2 separate regions of the Homo sapiens genome follow, and region 2 is linked to region 1. Evidence: promoter capture Hi-C in human tissues and cell types (Jung and others, 2019). All regions are on one chromosome and are shown on one strand. The core of a region is centred on a gene start or on the middle of the fragment in contact, and the rest is flanking DNA. Distances in the headings are between cores, read along the strand shown. Region 1 holds the start of SEZ6 (seizure related 6 homolog). Region 2 has its middle 17 kb from the start of MYO18A.

The links. The method cuts DNA at HindIII sites, captures the fragments that hold promoters and counts their contacts. A contact is called where the count stands out against the background at its distance.
Region 2: a contact is called between a fragment that was not itself captured here and the fragment with the promoter of SEZ6 in region 1, in 1 of the 25 tissues and cell types used here (IMR-90 fibroblasts).

What each region holds. Positions count from the first base shown.
Region 1 is chr17:29,002,875-29,007,751 of GRCh38, reverse strand. SEZ6 (seizure related 6 homolog) reads left to right here and starts at 1,719. Exons shown (of 17, transcript NM_178860.5): 1 at 1,719-1,937. The coding sequence starts at 1,883. All of the region lies in intron 2 of LOC105371716 (a long non-coding RNA gene), which reads right to left. RefSeq lists a silencer at 1,773-1,956 and enhancers at 3,307-3,931, 3,932-4,558. The HindIII fragment of the contact is 3,335 bases long and covers 727-4,061 here.
Region 2 is chr17:29,195,030-29,199,388 of GRCh38, reverse strand. It overlaps the pseudogene LOC100421028. Among named protein-coding and RNA genes, the nearest start is that of MYO18A, 17 kb to the right of the region's middle. The HindIII fragment of the contact is 7,363 bases long and covers 1-4,359 here.

The DNA.
Region 1 (4,877 bases), core at 470-2,969:
CTCAAAACAACTGTCCAGAAATCCCAGCGTCTTCCTAATTCCACACGCCATCTGCCTGCTGCCTGGGACTCTTTACAGCAGTCATCACAGCTCCCCAGAGCCCACAAGAAGAGGGTCTGGAGAGAATCCAACCAGCAGAGTTGGGAGACTCTGGTCAAGAGGACCAAAACACTCTCTAAGGAACTTGAGCAGAAATTTCACCACCTGCTTCCAGGATGAGGGTCAGGAAGGACACTGGACAATGACTGGAGTCTGGAAGCTTTGGAGAGCAACCAAGTTCATGTAAAAAGAAACTAAACAAAAAACTGCCCTTCTCCCAGGGGCAATAGGGAGTTCAGCCCTCCTATTCCTCTACAGGGAATAATAACATCAGCCATAGGATCCTGTCCCATTGTACCCATTAAAGCTCTTCAAGTGAGCCCATCCATGAGCCCCTGCCTTTAAAGAGCAGCCTCAGGATGGCACAGCTGTGACTGCCCCCTTGCTGTCCTGTGACTCACTGGGGCTCCTCAGCCCAAGCAGGGCCCTGGAAAGTTATTTTTCCATGCCTTTAATAGTACAGGCTACACCCCTGGGCCTCCTTCAAGTCTCTATCTAAAACAGCCGTAGGGCACAGTGGCTCATGCCTGTAATCCCAGCACTTTGGGAGGCCAAGGCGGGAGGATCTCTTGAGGCCAGGATTTCAAGACCAGTTTGGGCAACATAATGAGACCTTATCTCTGCAAAAAATTTAAAAATTAGCCAGGCTTGGGGGTGCATGCCTGTAGTTCTAGCTACTTGAGAGGCTGAAGTGGGAGGATCTCTTGAGCCCAGGAGTTTGGGTGAGCTATTAATATAATTGTGCCACTGCATTTCCAGCCTAAGCAACAGAGACCCTGTCTCTAAAAACAATAATAAAATAAAATAAAATAACAGCTCTAGGAAACCCTCTCTCATGCCTATGCCATTTTCTCCACCAATTCCAGAAACCTGGGCAGAGATGGCATGAAGGGTCTGTATCGACTGTCACTGTGGCTTCTCTGGTCCTGCAGAGGGGCCAAGGCAGAGTCCTGGAGACCCAGGGCTACGTGGGGACCCAGGATACTACCTTCAGCTGCCCACAGCTTGGCCCAGGTTGCCTCCTGCCAAGTGAAGAATGTCTCCCCAGGATGCGAGTGCCACTGGCTTTTAACTATAATATCAGGATAATTAAGCTTTTCTGTGAGCACAGTTTGCTGCTGATGCAGCTGCCTGGAGCCCTGGCATTTATTGAGCGCAAAGTAATAATTTATTATCCTTTGTACGCTCAAAAGCCATCTTCATTATCGTCCCAAGACGGAACTGCCACAAGGGCACGCGGGCCTCACCAGCTGCCTCACTCTCGGATGTCTTCCCAGGTCACCCTTGACGCCCTCAGGTACCAGGATTGGGTGGAGAGGGGTGGGGAAAGTGTTGCTCTTTCTCATGGAGAATCAGAAGGCTACAGTGAGCTATTAATTGAGGTTCCTTAGCAGGCCGTTAACGGGAAAGAGGGTGGCATGCTTGGCTGGGGGTGGGCAGCGCAGAAGGGCAGGGGCCGTGTGCCCACATGAGTAGGGCAGTCGCGGTGGAGCGGGAGCCTGGGCTCCTGCCCCTGGGTCTCTGCGCCTTTGCATGAGACTTTACGGTAAGCCGCTCCTCCCGCGCCCCCGCCCCCAGCCCCGCTCGGCGATCCCCGGCGCCGTCGCCAGGCGCTGGCCGTGGTGCTGATTCTGTCAGGCGCTGGCGGCGGCAGCGGCGGTGACGGCTGCGGCCCCGCTCCCTCTACCCGGCCGGACCCGGCTCTGCCCCCGCGCCCAAGCCCCACCAAGCCCCCCGCCCTCCCGCCGCGGTCCCAGCCCAGGGCGCGGCCGCAACCAGCACCATGCGCCCGGTAGCCCTGCTGCTCCTGCCCTCGCTGCTGGCGCTCCTGGCTCACGGTAAGGGACCCCGGCATCCGGCGGCAGGACGGGGGCGGGAGCGGGGCCCCAGGGGTGGGAAGGGAGACCCGGTGCCCAGCTTCGGGCATCTGGCTGCCCAGTCCAAGCACCGCGCCCCGCCGGCTGCGCTGCCCCCGGCGCCGGCCAAGCCGGGCGGGGCGCGGGCTTCGCGGGCGGGAAGCTGCCGCGGCTCCCGCCATTCGCGCCCGGCCGAGACCTCGTCTTTAATCATCTCCCCAGATCTAATGGGATTTCTCTGATGCAATTCATCACGCCACCCACTCCCCGCACACACGCGCTCACCCGCGCGCTACCTCGCCACACTCTAGGCATCTCAGGGTGCTGGGGCGCGTGCCGGGGGGCGCAAGGCAGTGAGTCGGGACGGTCCAGCTGGCGGCCCGTGGTCCCGCTTCCCCTGCCGCCCGCCAAACTTCGCTCGACTTTGCCGCCGGTTCCAGGGCCTCTAGTGTTCTTACTGAGGGGAGACGGGGCCGGATGGCGGCCGGACCCGGGGTTGGGACCTCGCTCACCTCCCCATGCCCTGGCGCTGCCACGCCAGAGTCGGGACCTAGAGCACAATTCTAGAGAGAAACTCCAAGGGCCTGGACCCCCTATCTGGCTCCTGGCTCTGCCCTCGGCTGCAGCAGCGGAGATCCTGGGATAGAGACTCTGTCCTCCCCAAAGTCCTTTCCTTGTACACACACACACACACACACACACACACACACACACACACCACTGCCCCGAGCTCTGCCTCCCTCCCGGCCTGCCTTCCTGCCCGGCCCTGGTCCACTCCCCACCTGCAAGGCAGATTTGTCTCTGGAGGACCTGTTCCCCACACCCTGAGAATCCCCGCGCCCCCTCTAGGAGTCTGGTCCCCAACTTCGTCGGTCTTGGGTAGAGGGAAGCTTGGCCATGGTGTGAGCGGCAAGGGAGTGTTGGGGAGAGGATAGGGGTTCCGTGCCTCGGGGAAGAGTCTTGTCTGGACCTGCCGTCCTGGCTCAAACAAGCTCTCATGGAAGCTACTGGCACCCACGTCCTTCTCCCGCTGCAGTAGGCTGGTAGGGTCGGCAGAACCGCACTTGGAGTTGAGACCTGCCATCCCTTGCCATATGGTTTGAAGGGCCTGATGTGAAGTGTGAGGGTGGGAGTTTCTAACCTCCCTGCTCGATCTTTCCAGGCCGCTGCCGAGGTCAAGGCAGCGCGGCCAGGGACAGGCTGGGCCCCCGGACGGCAGTTTTCTTCATCCAGGAAGAAAAACTGTGGCCCCGGAGACGCAGAAGCCTTTTTCTGAGCCTCTAGCTCCACTTGCACACAGCCCAGTGTCCTCACCCCGCTACCGGGCTGCCCATGCTGGATCCTCCGGCAGCGCCCAGAACTTGAAACCGTGTGCTCACGTTCTGGGGAGAGGGGAAGAGTCCTGCAAGACCCACCCCAGGGATGAAGACCGGGAAGGAGAAGTGTGAATCCCTGCCTAGCTGCCTGGGGATGTCCCTAGGAATTCCGAACCTATCTTGGGTCCTGATGGGTCCTGGCGCTGGACAGCTCCCCTGGGGCGCAGGGCCTGTGTCTGTCCCCTGGCAGTTAGTCAAGGCCTTGTGTGTGAGTTTGTGGGTCTGAATGTGAGAGTAATCAGGGCCCTGCATGACTAGAGGAGCCAGTCCCAGTGTGTCTGCACTTCAAGTGGTCCGAATCTTGGGTGAGGGGTCAGCAGTGAATGGGTGTGAGGACTGTGTGAGGCCACTAGTGTGTGGGTGCAGCCTCAGCCAGAGAGCTCCCTGCAGGGCTAGAGTGAGACTGTGGGAATCCAGGAGGAAGGCTGGTGTGGCCAGGAGTCCCACCAGCCCTGATGGGGATGTGGGTGTGAGTGTTAGGAGGAATCTGCTCACTCTGTGGCCTCAAGTCTGTGTGTCCCTGGGCAGTGTCCCTTCCTGACTATCAGGATCTCCAGTGCCCATGGAGGCACCTGCCAGTGGGATATGTGGGGTAGGAGTCTGGCTGTTGGGAAAGACCTCTATTTTCACTCCCCAAGGGAGACGAAGAGGCAGCCCCGAAGTGCCAAGCCTGAGGATGAGAGGGCTGGGATGTCAGAGCTGGGTAGCCAGAGGCTCCTCTCTCCTCGGCTGGACTGGAGGTCCCAACCATTGGGATAGTGAGTCATCTCAGTGGGGAGCAGCGCATTTGGCCATCCCGGGGTTCCTGGGCACTTTAGCTTTGTGAAGGCGAGCCTAAAGGAGCAAAGACCTCAGGCTATGAGCCTTTTCGGCCCGAGGGGTGCATCCCTCAGCCTTTCAGCCCCGCCACCTCTCTGATGAGGCCCTCAGAGCTTTGCTCATAGGCAGGATGCAGACTGCAGGATGTAGCCAGGCACGGCCCAGATGCCTTGGAAGGCCTGGTATGCCGAGGCTGCGGAGGTAGGGCAAAATCGTGCTGGGCTTGGCCCAAGCTCACAGGCTCAGTCCCCTATTCCCTTCTGCAGCCTCCAAGTCTTGATTGGCGTCAGGCATCAGGGGCGTCTTGGGCCACGGGGTATCTTCCCAAGCTGTGTGGGGTGCCTGGGCCATCCAGCCACAGTGGAGGAAAAAGCGGTGTTGAAGGGGCTGCGTGTGCCGAGCCTGCTGTGTCAGTTTAATGATTTTTAATGAGCAATTACCTTTAGTCATTCTCCTAATTTCTGAATATCAATAAAGTTAATTAAACTCTGCATGTGTGAATGTGGCCTAGGGAGATTATGAAGGTGGAAGCCGCTGAGACTGGGGTAAGGTTGGGTCTCAGGAATGGAGGCTGCCTCCATGGCTGTGTGACCTTGGACCTGCTGCTCCACCTCTCTGAGCTCCACTTGAGAATGTGGTGATAGAGGGGGCCTGGGGATGGCTAGTCTGGGTTACTCACTCTGCCAAGAACTGAGGGATGATGTCTGGAAGGGAAGGTCTGGAGGAG
Region 2 (4,359 bases), core at 570-3,069, 190 kb before region 1:
TCTGGTCTTTACCCTGAGTTTGTATAGTAAGCATGCTACGTACTGCTGCGTAGTAAGCAGGCTACGTACTGTGTCAGCTGGGTGCAGTGGCTCACGACCGTAATCCCAGCACTTTGGGAGGCTGAGGTGGGAGGATCGCTTGAGGCCAGGAGTTCGAGACCAGCCTGGGTGAGATAAGAAGACTCCCTCAAGCCTCTACAAAATATATATATTATATATTATATAATATATATTATATATAATATATATTATATAATATATATTATATATAAAATATATATAATATATATTATATAATATATAATATATATAAAATATATTATATAATATATAATATATAAAAAATATATAATATATATAATATATATAATATACAATATATATAATACACACACACACACACACACACACACACATATTTTCTGAGATGGCGTCTCACCCTGTCGCCCAGGCTGGAGTACAGTGGCATGATGAGCTCGGCTCACTGCAGCCTCCGCTTACTGGATTCAAGCGATTTTCCTGCCTCAGCCTCCCGAGTAGCTGGGACTACAAGGCATGCGCCACCACGCCTGGCTAATTTTTGTATTTTTAGTAGAGTCAGGAGTTGGGGTTTTGCCATGTTGGCCAGGCAGTCTCGAATTTCTGGCCTCAAGTTATCTGCATGCCTCAGCCTCCCAAAGTGCTGGGGTTACAGGCATGAGCCATGGTGCCCGGCAAATTTTTTTTTTAATTAGCTGGGCATGTGGGACACACCTGTAGTCCTAGCTACTCAGGAGGCTGAGGCAGGAGGATCACTTCCGCCTAGGAGTTTGAGGTTACAGTGAACTATGTTCATGTTACTGCACTCCAGCCTGGGTGACAGAGTAAGACCCTGTCTCTAAAAAAATACAATAAATAAATAAACTACATGTTTATTTGAGAGGCAGAAGGGAGAGTGTTGACAGAAATAATGGGTGTAAATGCCCCACAAGCTATACCCTTGGGAATTTTTTCAGTAATTCTCAGGGTCAGAAGCTGCAGAAATGTAAAGTAAAATGAGATTGTTGCAATATGAGGCCTTAAGGAGAATCCACTGGACAGAGACAGGAGGATGTAAGGCCTGTCTCTTTCAAACCCTGACATAGTAGTCAAAAAACATGTTACCCTGGACTCGGAAGAAACACAATCTAGGTCATGAATTTCCACCGTGGCATCTTGGGAGAAATATGCCTGGTACTATGTCGATCTGAAGAAAATGCCAAGACAGTTGGGAGGCCCGAAAGCCTGTTGAGTTAGGAAGAGTTCAGTGGAAGCCTAACTGTAATAGAAGTGTGCAGCCTGTCTTGGTGAATGTTGGGCTGCGTTGGGCTCCTTCTGGGAGTCACTGCTTCCATCTTTTCTTCTGCAGTGTCCTTTTCTCTGCCAGCTTGTTCTTCCCATCCTTGTCAGGCAGCGAGTGGCATGCCTGGGCGTCAGGCACAGATGGAGCTGGAGCTCTTGCTGTGGGCCAGAAATAGCTTTGCAAATATCTGGCTGTGGGGGCATTATGTTTTCGTCCCCTTCCCTTCCTGTCCCCTCACTTCAATTTCTTGTGATTTCTGTGTCCACAGAAATCACAAGATGAGCGACTGGTCATTCCTGGGCTGGCTCCTGACCCGAGTGCAGAACGATTCCACCGTGGTTGGCAAGGTATGGCTCACTGTCCTGGTCTTACACATCCTGCTTGTCGCCCTGCTGGGAAGTGCTGTCTGTGGGATGAGCACTGCAAGTTCATCTGCAATACCCTGCGGCCTGGCTGCACCAATGACCACTTCTCCCACTTCCGCTGGGGCTTTCCAGATTGTGCTGGTGGCCGTACCCTCCATCTTCTTTGTTGTCTGTGTGCTGCACTAGATGGTGAATGGGAGACAGTGGATGTGGAGAGGGGGTACCTGCTGGAAACCGTGCAAGAGCTGGCAGCTGGAGGGGCTCTCCCTGGACCCAGGCTGGGGCCCCTTGGGGCTTCTTTCTTTCTAGAGGGGCAGCTCTTAGTAGGAGAGGAGGTTTTTCCCCAAATGCCTTGGGGCTGCCACCTGGTACCCCAGCCTGCAGTCATACAGGGTCCTGGCTGTCTGCACTGCCCACGTGGTGCTGCGGGCCTGCATGGAGCTGGCCTTCCTGGTGGGGTCTACTCTCTGGGTGTGATATGCCATGGTTGCTTCACTGCCACTCCTCCCCTGTCCCTCCAGTCCTGACTGCTTTGTGTCCAGAGCCATGAGGAAGAAAATCTTCCTGAACTTCATGTGCAGGTGGGGTTGGGCTGCTTCCTCCTGAACCCGATGGAGTTGTGCTACCTGGGCTGGGTCTTCCCTTGCCAGGCACGCTCTGTGGCCTGCACCAGCTAGTGCTACTTCTGCTCCACTGTGATGAGGAAGGACCGTGCTCCAGGTGCCCTCCTGCTGGTGAGTGCCCCAGCAGTGCAGGCCCCAGCACCGCACGCCCCATGCTCACTGCCCGGTGGTGACAAGCAGCTGGCTTAGGGTAGCAGCAGAGACCTGACACTCCCCCCCAGCAATGCCACTCAGCAAAAAAATCCTGCCATCCTGCTTGGTCTTTGAGGGTGGGGAATGTGGAGTGGGAGTGGAAAACCCTGCTTCTTTCTGAAGATGTTACCTCAACAGACACAGTTTAGTGAAGTGATGAAGAGTGAGGCCTCTGGAACCCAGGTTCAAATCCCAGCTCTGCCATTTACCAGTGGTGTAACCTCAGACAAATTGCTTAACTTCTCTGTACCCCAGTTTCTCTAACTGAAAAACGGAAATCATAATAGATCCTCACTCCTACTTCATAGGAATGCTGTGAGGGTGAAATGAGTTTATACATGTAAAGTGCTTATAGATAGTAGCTGGTAACAAACGTTAGCCATTTGTATTAACCTCAGCTGCCTACAGCGTTGCTTTTGCTTGCCTAGCTTCCTGGGCCACCCACAATTGTGGAATCTATTGTCAATTCCTCCCTCAGTTGCTCTTACGGCTGTTGGAAGCCAAGTCCCCACACATTCTTCCTTGTAAGTCTCTCCTACACCTGTCCCCTCTGTTGGGTCCCCAAGTCATCTTCCTTGTTCAAGTTTGTATTTTCGGCCCCCTGCACTGCTGTTGCTGAACCTGCCAGGCACCTCTCTGCCTGCACTGCCCTTTCCTCTATTCCAACATACACCTGCCTCGCTGTGGAATCTCCTTGAATTAATCACTTAAAGTTCCTATGCCTGGAAACCAGCATCTTCCATGAGCCAGCCTGGACCTCCTTTTCTAGCCGGATCACCTACTTTTTCCAAAGAAGCCCTCCATTCTAGCCACACCAGGAGCTGTGCCTGGGGCTCCCTCCCCTACCTCCCACCCTTTGCTTGTGTTCCCTCCCGGGGACCTCTGACGTGGGAGGCTTCAGGACTAAGTTCGAATCCTGCCCCGCCACTCGGTGGTTGTGTGAGCTTGCGTAAGCTACTTGGTCTTCTGGTGATCAGTTTCCTGCTGTGTCAGAAGAGACTAATCATACTTTCTTCACAGGGTCATTGTGAGGATTAAACAAGATACTCTGAGTAAAGTGCAAGGCACACAATGTTCATCAATGAGTAGTAGATGCCATGATTATCACCTACATTCTACTATTATTGCTCAGATACTACCTTTTTTCTGTGCAACGTTCCTTGACCACTGCTCTGATTTTTTTCCTCTGTGCCTCCAAGGCAATTTCACTTAACAATTAGTCACGCAGTATTTTGTGACTTCCCCTTTACTGTGGTCTTCAGCAGTTATTTAAATCCCATCCTGCTGTGTAACTTTGCACATGTCTCTCATTGGTCTTTCATCTCAGTTGCAAGGAGGGGTGGTGACGATGTGCTTTGCAGGAAGAGGACACAAGCTTCTGCTCCCAGCTTAGCACTTTGCGTGGAATAGGAGCTCAACTCATATATGCCGATTTAATTAATTTTGAAATCTTTAGGCTACAATTAGAACTGAGTCCAGACTGAGCTGTACTTGAGGCATGTCAGAAAAGCAGAGTGACAGACATTCCTCCAGTGTCTTCCACAACTTGGGCCGATTTCTAACAATCCTTTAACAACTAAAAAAGTTCCTTGCAGGGTCTAATTTCAGTCCTGCTTGCTGCAATTGAAGCTGCTTTTCAGCCTCAGATTATTGATGTCTAGGTCCTAAAAAGTGTGTGTGGCGGGGGCGGCAGGCGCAGTGGCTCACGCCTGTAATCCCAGCATTTTGGGAGGCCAAGGCGGGCAGTTGCCTGAAGTTGGGAGTTCGAGACCAAGCTGGCTAACATGGTGAAACCCCGTCTCTACTAAAAATAAAAAAATTAGCCAGGCATGGTGGTGCACGCCTGTAGTCTCTGCTA